3 separate regions of the Homo sapiens genome follow, and regions 2 and 3 are each linked to region 1. The links are contacts of gene promoters, found by promoter capture Hi-C in blood cells and fetal thymus (Javierre and others, 2016). All regions are on one chromosome and are shown on one strand. Each heading gives the region's core, a stretch centred on a gene start or on the middle of the fragment in contact. The rest is flanking DNA. Distances are from core to core; before and after follow the strand shown.

What was found. Contacts are between HindIII fragments. The CHiCAGO score rates a contact against its expected background, and 5 or more counts as called.
Region 2: a fragment that was not itself captured here is called in contact with the fragment with the promoter of EIF5 in region 1 in 2 of 17 cell types (fetal thymus and total CD8 T cells); the score reaches 6.6 in fetal thymus.
Region 3: the fragment with the promoter of TDRD9 here is called in contact with the fragment with the promoter of EIF5 in region 1 in 1 of 17 cell types (total CD4 T cells); the score reaches 10.2 in total CD4 T cells.

What each region holds. Positions count from the first base shown.
Region 1 is chr14:103,332,716-103,335,681 of GRCh38, forward strand. It overlaps EIF5 (eukaryotic translation initiation factor 5), which reads left to right and starts at 1,522. Exons shown (of 12, transcript NM_001969.5): 1 at 1,522-1,545; 2 at 1,674-1,882; 3 at 2,938-2,966. EIF5-DT (EIF5 divergent transcript) reads right to left here and starts at 1,945. Exons shown (of 1, transcript NR_158216.2): 1 at 1-1,945. RefSeq lists an enhancer at 978-1,097 and silencers at 1,418-1,837, 1,978-2,027, 2,138-2,377. The HindIII fragment of the contact is 3,190 bases long and covers 1-2,966 here.
Region 2 is chr14:102,594,208-102,597,173 of GRCh38, forward strand. All of the region lies in intron 2 of RCOR1 (REST corepressor 1), which reads left to right. Among named protein-coding and RNA genes, the nearest start is that of RCOR1, 3.0 kb to the left of the region's middle. The HindIII fragment of the contact is 1,196 bases long and covers 653-1,848 here.
Region 3 is chr14:103,926,934-103,929,899 of GRCh38, forward strand. It overlaps TDRD9 (tudor domain containing 9), which reads left to right and starts at 1,523. Exons shown (of 36, transcript NM_153046.3): 1 at 1,523-1,791. The coding sequence starts at 1,577. The HindIII fragment of the contact is 2,314 bases long and covers 1,304-2,966 here.

The DNA of each region.
Region 1 (2,966 bases), core at 272-2,771:
TAGAGACCAGAGTGCAGGTTAGCGGGGCTCTCGCTCCATCAGTCAAGTGAGGTCTTCAAACTTCAGGGTGAACTATGGATGTGTTTTTAAGACTCAAGTTTTCACAAAAAAAATCCAAGTTTCAGAAAGAATGGGAGAGTTTCAACAGAACTAAAATATGAGAGCCTCTCTCTAAATAATAAAAATTTTCTTTTTTTTTTTTTTTGGAGACAGTCTCGCTCTGTTGTCCAGGCTGGAGTGCAGTGGTGTGATCTCGGCTCACTGTAACCTGTGCCTCCCGGGTTCAAGGATTCTCCTGCCTCAGCCTCCCGAGTAGCTGGGATTACAAGCGAGCCACCACGCCCAGCTAATTTTTTGTATTTTTAGTAGAGACAGGGTTCCACCATATTGGCCAGGCTGGTCTCAAATTCCCGACCTCAGGTGATCCGCCCACCTCAGCCTCCCAAAGTGCTGGGATTACAGACGTGAGCCACCGCGACCGGCCTAAATAATAGTAATTTTCAACGGAATACATTGGAATCTCATTATAAATGCCTGCTCTGGGCTACGATTTGCTTATCAAAGAATTCACAAGTCATAAACTAGAGGGGGTGGACTCGACGTGATGCCCACTAGGAGAAAGGTGACAAGAGAAGCACGAAGGATAGCGCTTTTCAACCCTGGGAGAGCAGGGAGGCCTTCACCAGAAGGTGGGAACCCACCACGAAGCGCCTTCAGGAGGCCCCAGGATTCCAAACCAATTAAGGGCCTCCTCTTCCGAAAACGGGAGGCGACGCGCTGAGCTAAGCGCGCAGGCTGGGTTGCGGGCCGACACCGAGGCGGCGCGGCCTCGCGACCGCCCTGGGCGGTCACTGGCGAGTCACGGACTCGTTCCGCCAGCGGCCAATCCACCCCGAGTCCGAAACAGAAGACGTCCCTGGGATGAAAGACCCAGGCCTGGGGCTTAAGGTGGAAAAACAACTCATTCCTCGAGGCCCGGAGTCGGGCGTCCCGGGAGAACGGGAAAGGGAGATGAGCGCCCGCTGCGGGGAGAACGCGGTCGGGTTCCTCTCCCCGAAGGTGGCAGCCGCAAAAACACGGCCTCGAAAGCAGTTTCGAGGACGATGGCTCCTGCGTCCCGGGAGTCGCCATGACGCCGCGGCCTGTCCCAGACCCGGCGAGGGAGGGGACCAACCACCATCTCCCCCTCAAGGCCCAAACCGACAAAGAACGGCCCCCGGTACCCCGGCCCCGCCACCAGGGCCACTCCGGGTCTCGCGAGACCCAAGGGCTGCGCCGCGAAGACCTCTGGGAAAGGCGGGGGGAGGGGAGAGGAAGGAAGCGAGACCGGGGCTGGAGGCGGGCCGAGGCCGCGAGTTGAGCCTCAGGAAGCAGAAGGGGCGCGGAAAGATGCGATTGACGTCGCAAGCGAACCAATGACGAGCGAGCTGTGGCAGGCCTCCAGCCAATGGGCAGTGAGGCCTGACGCGGGGGGCGGACGCTGGGGCCGAGGGTAGCTTGAGCGCGGCGGCGGCGTTGTTCAGTCAGAGCGAGAACATTCCAGAGGTGAGTCCGGTGAAGGGGCGGCCCCCTGCCCGGTGCTTCCCGCCCCCTCGACCCCTCGGGCCGCTGGCTGGCGGGGAAGGTGCACTCCCCGACCGCCCACGGCTCACGGCGCCGTCTCTCCGCGCCAGGTCGCCCAGCTCCGGCGCTGACGGGTGTGGACCGCGGACGTCGCTGGGACAGCCCCTCCCCGCTGCTCGGCGGCGGCACCTGGCCCGGCCGCTCCTCGCTGCGCTTCGCCTCCGCCTCCTCGGACTCGGACTCGGGTTTATATCGCGCCTCACTTCATCCCAGTCCCGGGCGAGCAGCGTTGGGTTTATGTCTTTATTTGACGAAAACGGTGAGTCGCGGGCGCGGCGGGCCAGGAGATGGCGGCCGCACAAGATGGCGGCGGCCGCCGCGTGACCCCGCCGCGGCGTGTGGCGCAGTTTGGGCGGACGGCGGGCGGGCGCGGGCCCGGGCGCCGGCCGCCCCCTCCCCGCGCGCTCCCCGGCCCGGCCTCGCCCCCTCCCCGGCATGGCGGGAGCGCGTCGCGCGTGCCCGCCGCTCGGGCTGACTCAGGCTTCAGCTGCTGCATTTGTGAGTCATCGCGCGCTCTGGGGCGGGGGCGGCCCGATCCCGGCACCCCTCGGCCGTGTGTCGCTTCCCGGCTGTGCACCCTCCGGGGCCGCCGGCTCTCGGGGGACGCGCTGGGGATGGGGCCAGACGCCCCGGTCGCGCGCCCCCCTCCTTCGCGGAGCTGCCCGGTTCGCCAGCCCCCGCGGAAACGCCTCGGAGCGCGGTAGCCATGGGGACCAGGGCGAAGGTTAACCGAGTATTTGAATAGCGAGGAAAAGGGAGGCCGGGGCGAGCCTGGCGTTCGCTCGCGCTCTCTTGCTTAATGGCAAATTGTGGGCGAGCGCTGCGTTTAAGGAAGTGCTGCTTTGAAGTAAGCCATGGTTGCCGAAGCAACGATTAGTTGTAGAGAACAGTTCCCTAGGTTGCCCTTAAAAATGAAGACGAACGGGGGTGTGCCTGAGAAGTTTGCTTATCCAGGCGGGGTGGGCGGCGGAGAGGGCTCGGGTTCGTTCTTCAGCACTTCCAGGATGGCCGCAGAGGCAAACCTGCTGATTGCCCTCGGTCTGATGGAATCTCACGGCGGCTGAGGCAGCACAGCTTGTGTTTTCTTGTCAGGCATTTCCCTACCAGTCACAGCTTAGTCGAAATGGAGGCCTTTTTATGTTCCCGCAGATTGTACTGTGTTACATGAGAATGGCTGTTTGCATGTGATCTCAGATGCTTTTTAAGGTGGAGTTAAGCAGAAGCATAACTAGGATGTAAAAAGGAGGCGTTTCCATCCAGCGATGATGTTAAACCTGGGGGGATTTTTGTGTGTTCTTTCCCTTTTTCTTTCAGAGCTGTTGCGCAGCCATTGGTACCTGTAT
Region 2 (2,966 bases), core at 1-2,500, 740 kb before region 1:
GGTATGGAAAATGTTTGAAAGAACGTAGGATTTATTTCAGAAATAAAATTCAAAAGAGCATCTTGTAAAGCTGGAGTTAACAATCCTCCATGGTTGGAGGGCTTTAGAGCTGGGGTTCTGTATGTGGGTTATACCACTAGTTTATTTGAAAAGATAAACGCATACATGTTTTTTCCTTGGAAACAAGACTGCAGAAAATTGCAATGATCTAGTCCTTGAAAAAGGCGATTGCTCTCAAGCTGTTATTAAGGTACTAAACTGCACTTTGAAGTGAAAATACATAGAGGTCCTAGGTGAGCTCTTGGACACTCTGGAAATAAATGACTTCCTAAATTGGCCTTCTAAATTTTGATTTGTTGACGTAAATCTGTTAAATTTATTTGTCTAATACTCGCGTTTGTGTTTCTTTTAAGTCCATGTTAGTGTTTTTGATAGTTTCCTCTTCTCCCCAATTCTTTTTTTTTTTTTTGGTAGTCACTTCTCGTTTATGAGTGACAGGATAGAACTAGGTGGCCAGGCTATATCTCTTGTATGCTTGGCTCCTCCGTTCCTTGGTTGGCCACCAGGGGAAGCATACTGTTTTTTGGTTACAGTTGACCCTGTCTTCATTTTGTAGGTCAAGTCTATCTTTGCTTTAAAACACAGAACATAAAGCTTGTTACCAAATTTTCCTAATGTATTATTTTTAAAAATCGACTTCCACAAATCTTTGAGTAAGTTGGTAGGCTTTTTGATACATTTTTGTTAACATAAATTTTGAAAACTTTATGTAGATGTGTTGGATGTGACTAAGGAAAAGGGCATATTTGTCAACAACAGGAATTAGATTTCTGACATTCATCGAAATATTGACATCAGCTCTGCATTGTTAGTAATGAGTTTGACTTCTTTGGAGTTATACTTTTCTTTGAAACAGCAAATATAATATTTTGAACTGTCTTTGGGCTTTTTGTTGGAATAGATATGAGCATAAACTTGCTAGTGACCAGCTATTCTAAAATGGAAAACATTTATCAGATTGCAGTAGCTCACACCTGTAGTCCCAACACTTGGGGAGGCCAAGGCTGGAGGATCTCTGGAGCTCAGGAGTTGGAGACCAGCCTGGGCAATGTAGTCAGACTCTGTCTCAACAAAAAATAAAAAAATTAGCTGGGCATGGTGGCATGTGCCTGTAGTTTCAGCTACGGGGGGGTCTGAGGCTGGAGGATCTCTGGGAAGTCAAGGCTGCAGTGAGCAGTGATCTGGCCATTGCACTCCAGCCTGGGTGACAGAGTGAGACCCTGTCTCAGAAATAAAAAGGAAAACATCTAACTGTTTTGCTGCATAGTCTTGCTGCCAATTGGTTGAGTATTGATATTAAAATTTCCAAATTTCTTTTTTTTTTTTTTGAGACGGAGTCTTGCTCTGTCCCTCAGGCTGGAGTGCGCAGTGGTGTGATCTCAGCTCACTGCAAGCTCCGCCTCCCAGGTTCACGCCATTCTCCTGCCTCAGCCTCCAGAGTAGCAGGGACTACAGGCGCCCACCAACACTCCTGGCTAATTTTTTGTATTTTTAGTGGAGACGGGGTTTCACCGTGTCAGCCAGGATGGTCTTGATCTCCTGACCTCGTGATCCGCCCGTCTCGGCCTCTCATAGTGCTGGGATTACAGGCATGTGCCACCGCGCCCGGCCCCAAATTTCTTTATTTTGTGTTTGTTTTAATCTGGAAAGGAATCTAACTGGTGTAAAGTAATTTCAAACCTTGTTTTGCCAACCTAAGCAGGGGGACACAGTTTTCTAGATATGGCAGAAAATTGAGACTTTACTATTTCCTAGTGGTTTTTTATGTGTCTTTTCATTTAACTTAAAAGCTTAAGGGGAAGGAAGGCTTCCATTTTGGAATAGAAATGATACAACATTTTTTTTTTTTTTAATACGGAGTTTCACTCTTGTTGCCCACGCTGGAGTGCAATGGCGTGATCTGGGCTCACCGCAACCTCTGCCTCCTGGGTTCAAGCAATTTTCCTGCCTCATCCTCCTAAGTAGCTGGGATTACAGGCATGCGCCACCATGCCTGGCTAATTTTTTGTATTTATAGTAGAGACAGGGTTTCTCCATGTTGATCAGGCTGGTCTGGAACTCCTGAACGCAGGTGATCCACCCACCTCAGCCTTCCAAATTACTGGGATTACAGGGGTGAGCCACCGTGCCCAGCCAACTGATGTTTGTTTTATAGCAAAATTCTTTCTTAGCTGTTTAAGACTTAAGACAGGTTCTTTCCATGACTGCAATTTAAGAGTAGTGAATTGAGTAATAAATTAAGAATTGAGAGTTTGATCCTTACTAGTTTTTATTTCCTCCTCCTACTTGTTTTTTTCTTTTTTCTTTTATTTTTTGAGACCAAGTCTCACTCTGTTGCCCAGGCTGGAGTGCAGTGGCACGATCTTGGCTCACTGCAACCTCCACCTCCGAGGTTCAAGTGATTCTCCTGCCTCAGCCTCCAGAGTAGCTGGGATTACAGGTGCCCACCACCACGCCCAACTAATTTTTGTGTTTTTATTAGAGATGCGGTTTCACCATGTTGGCCAGGCTGGTCTCGAACTCTTTGCTTCAGGTGATCTCCCCGCCTTGTCCTTCCAAAGTGCTGGGATTACAGGCGTGAACCACTGTGACTGCCCCTCCCCCCGCCTTTTTTTTTTTTTTTGAGACGGAGTCTTGATCTGTTGCCCAGGCTGGAGTGCAATGGCACAATCTTGACTCACTGCAACCTCCATCTCCCAGGTTCAAGTGATTCTCCTGCCTCAGCCTCCCAAGTAGTTGGAACTACAGGTGCGTGCCACCATGCCTGGCTAATTTTTGTGTTTTTAGTAGAGACGGGGTTTCACCATATTGGCCAGGCTGGTCTTGAACTCCTGACCTCAGGTGATCTGCCCCCCTCGGCCTCCCAAAGTGCTGGGATTACAGGCGTGAGCCACCATGCCCTGTCC
Region 3 (2,966 bases), core at 273-2,772, 590 kb after region 1:
GAGCCCAGGAGCTTGAGACTGGCCTGGGCAACACAGCGAAACCCCTGTCTGTACTAAAAATATAAAAAATTAGCCGGTGTGGTGGTGGCGTGAGCCTGTAGTTCCAGCTATGCAGGAGGTTGTGGTGGGAGCATCACCTGAGCCCCCGAAGTTGAGGCTGCAGTGAGCCCTGATTGCAGCACGGCACTCCAGCCTCAGCGACAGGAGTGAGACCCTGCCTCAAAAGAAAAAAGAAAAGCAAGTTATTTCTTCCTGGCAAAGTGTGTTGAGGCACTTTTGGGAACCTGTCGTATTTGGCAGAGTCCTAATATGAGGTCTAGAGCTCATTATGCCAGGATTTGGAGCCAGAACTCCTGGCTTAGTATGATTATGGGTTCAATTTTTGAGACACCAATAGCTCAACCTACCTGCCTGATTTCTGTCTACAGTGTTTTCAAACCGCCCTCTTATTTGCCACTGCTTGGGCTTTACACTGCTGATTAGAGCCATGCTCTCGATACCGTCTCTGTATTTGTTCACATGGCTCTTTCCTGAGAGCCCACATGGGCCAGATAGATCCTGCCCTGGCCAGTGAGGGGGACACACCCCAGGCAGGTGGCCATGTCTCTCTTCTGACCCTCCCTTCCCTTGCACACGTGGCTGCCTTCCCGTGCATCCTTTGTTGATTTCTTCCCGCGGCTCCTTCTTTTGGGGAGTTTGCTAGGGCTCTGTTCTCCACCCTCACTCTTCTAGAGCTCGGCCGGGACCACCTCAGCCTGTATCTTTGGTCCATGTGATCGCCTGGACCTCCTGTCCGCACCTGTTTGTGTCCAGCTGTGAGTCTGACACCGCCGCCTGAGACACCGGTTTAGGAAGGAAGATGAATTCAGTTATGATCCGGCTGCAAAGAACTTCTCCCAGATCCTCACCTCAGCCATCAGGGCCGCCTGCCCTCCCCTATAACCCTGGGTGGTCCTCCGTCTGGCGCATTCCCCCGTATCCTGCAGGGGTCTGCCTGGCGTTACTTTCTCCGAGACCTTCCTGACCTTCTTCTTGCCCCTCTCCCCCCATATTAGGTGCAAGGATGTCCTGGTACGTCTGACCCACGAACGCAAATCCCTTCTCTGGTTTGCCTTCCATCTCCTCACCCTGAGGTGCTCAAGAAACGTATGTAGGGTCCCGGTCCGCTCAAAGCGCACAAACCTCCGAGGCAGCAGCCTCTAAATAGAGAGGCCAGGGAGTGACCGGAGGGCATTTTCTTGTACACACAGGGGTTGCCACGGAACTCCCGTGAAACAGACTCCCGGGCCAGCCGCGGCGCTCAAGCTTCCCCTGAGGTCCTAGAAAGGCTCACCCTGGGCTCGCTCGGGGCGGCGGCTCCCGGCAGGCCTAGCGCGGCGGGGCGGGGCCGGCGGCACGAGGACCAGGCAGCGCGGGCAGCACGCGCCCGGGCCGGAGCCCGCCCACAAGGGCGCGCGGCGCGTTCTGATTGGAAGGCCTCGAGCGGGGGCGGGGCTTCCAGGGTGCGCTTCCGCCGTCGCCTGTTCCCGCCGCGGAGACCCGGCAGTTGGGGGATGCCGACGCCTGGGCCTTGAGGATGCTGCGGAAGCTCACCATCGAGCAGATCAACGACTGGTTCACCATCGGCAAGACGGTGACCAATGTGGAGCTGCTGGGCGCGCCGCCCGCCTTCCCGGCAGGGGCGGCCAGGGAGGAGGTGCAGCGCCAGGACGTGGCCCCCGGCGCTGGTCCCGCGGCCCAGGCTCCGGCTCTGGCCCAAGCTCCGGCCCGGCCGGCCGCTGCGTTCGAAAGGTAGGACGCGGGCGGGGCGGAGGCGGCTGGAGGGCGGCCGGGCGAGGCCTGGCGACGAGGGCACGGGCCATCCAGATCCTTCTCGCGAGCCCGTGCCCTCTCGCGGGGCTCCAGGGACCCCTGACCGTCCAGGGCGAGTGGTCACTACACAACCCGACGCGCGGCCCAGAGCGGTGCCTGTAAGGAAGCTGAGCTAGAGGTTTTTTTTTTTTTTTTTTTTTCAGTTCTTAATGTTTAACAGACTAGTTTTTGAGGCACTCAGGTTTTCAGGATAACGGAGCGGAGGGCAGAGGTCCCATAGGCCCCTTCCCTCCCAGAGTTTCCCCTGTGAGCATCTGCGTAAGGTGTGGGTATTTGTGACAGTCGGCGAACCTGCATCGCTGCGTCTTCGTCACCCGGAGGCCATCGTTACAGGAGGGTTCACGCCTCGTACTGGACGTTCTGTGGGTTTGGACAAACGCCTAACGTCACGCATTACAGAGTTCACTGACCTACAGATCTTCTCGGCCCCACTGTTCCTGCCTCCCTTTCCCTACACCACGTGGAAACCACTGATTTTTTTACTGTCTCCATAATTTTGCTTTTCCATACTGTCATCTAGTTGGAATCACACAGTATGTGTAGCCTTTTTGATGGGTTTCTGTCACTTAGTATTAGTATGCATTTGGGGGTTCCTCCATGCCTTTCCATGGTTTGATAGCTTCTTTCCTTTTAGCACTGATTAATATTCCACTGTCTGGATGTACCACAGTTTATCTCCATTCACCTACTGAAGGAGAGCTTGGTTGCTTCCAAGTTCTCCCCCCACCCCCCGAGATGGAGTCTCACTTTGTTACCCAGGCTGGAGTGGAGTGGCGCCATCTCGCCTCACTGCAATCTCCCCCTCCTAGGTTCAAGCGATTCTCCTGCCTCAGCCTCCCGAGTAGCTGAGGCTACAGGCATATGCCACCACGCCTGGCTAATTTTTGTATTTTTAATAGAGACAGGGTTTCACCATGTTGGCCAGGCTAGTCTAGAACTCCTGACCTCAGGTGATCTGCCCACCTCAGCCTCCCAAAGTGCTGGGATTACAGGCGTGAGCCACTGCGCCCGGCCTGCTTCCAAGTTTTGGCAAGGTTTTTGTGTGGACATAAGTTTTCAACTCATTGGGTAAATACCAAGGAGTGCAAATGCTG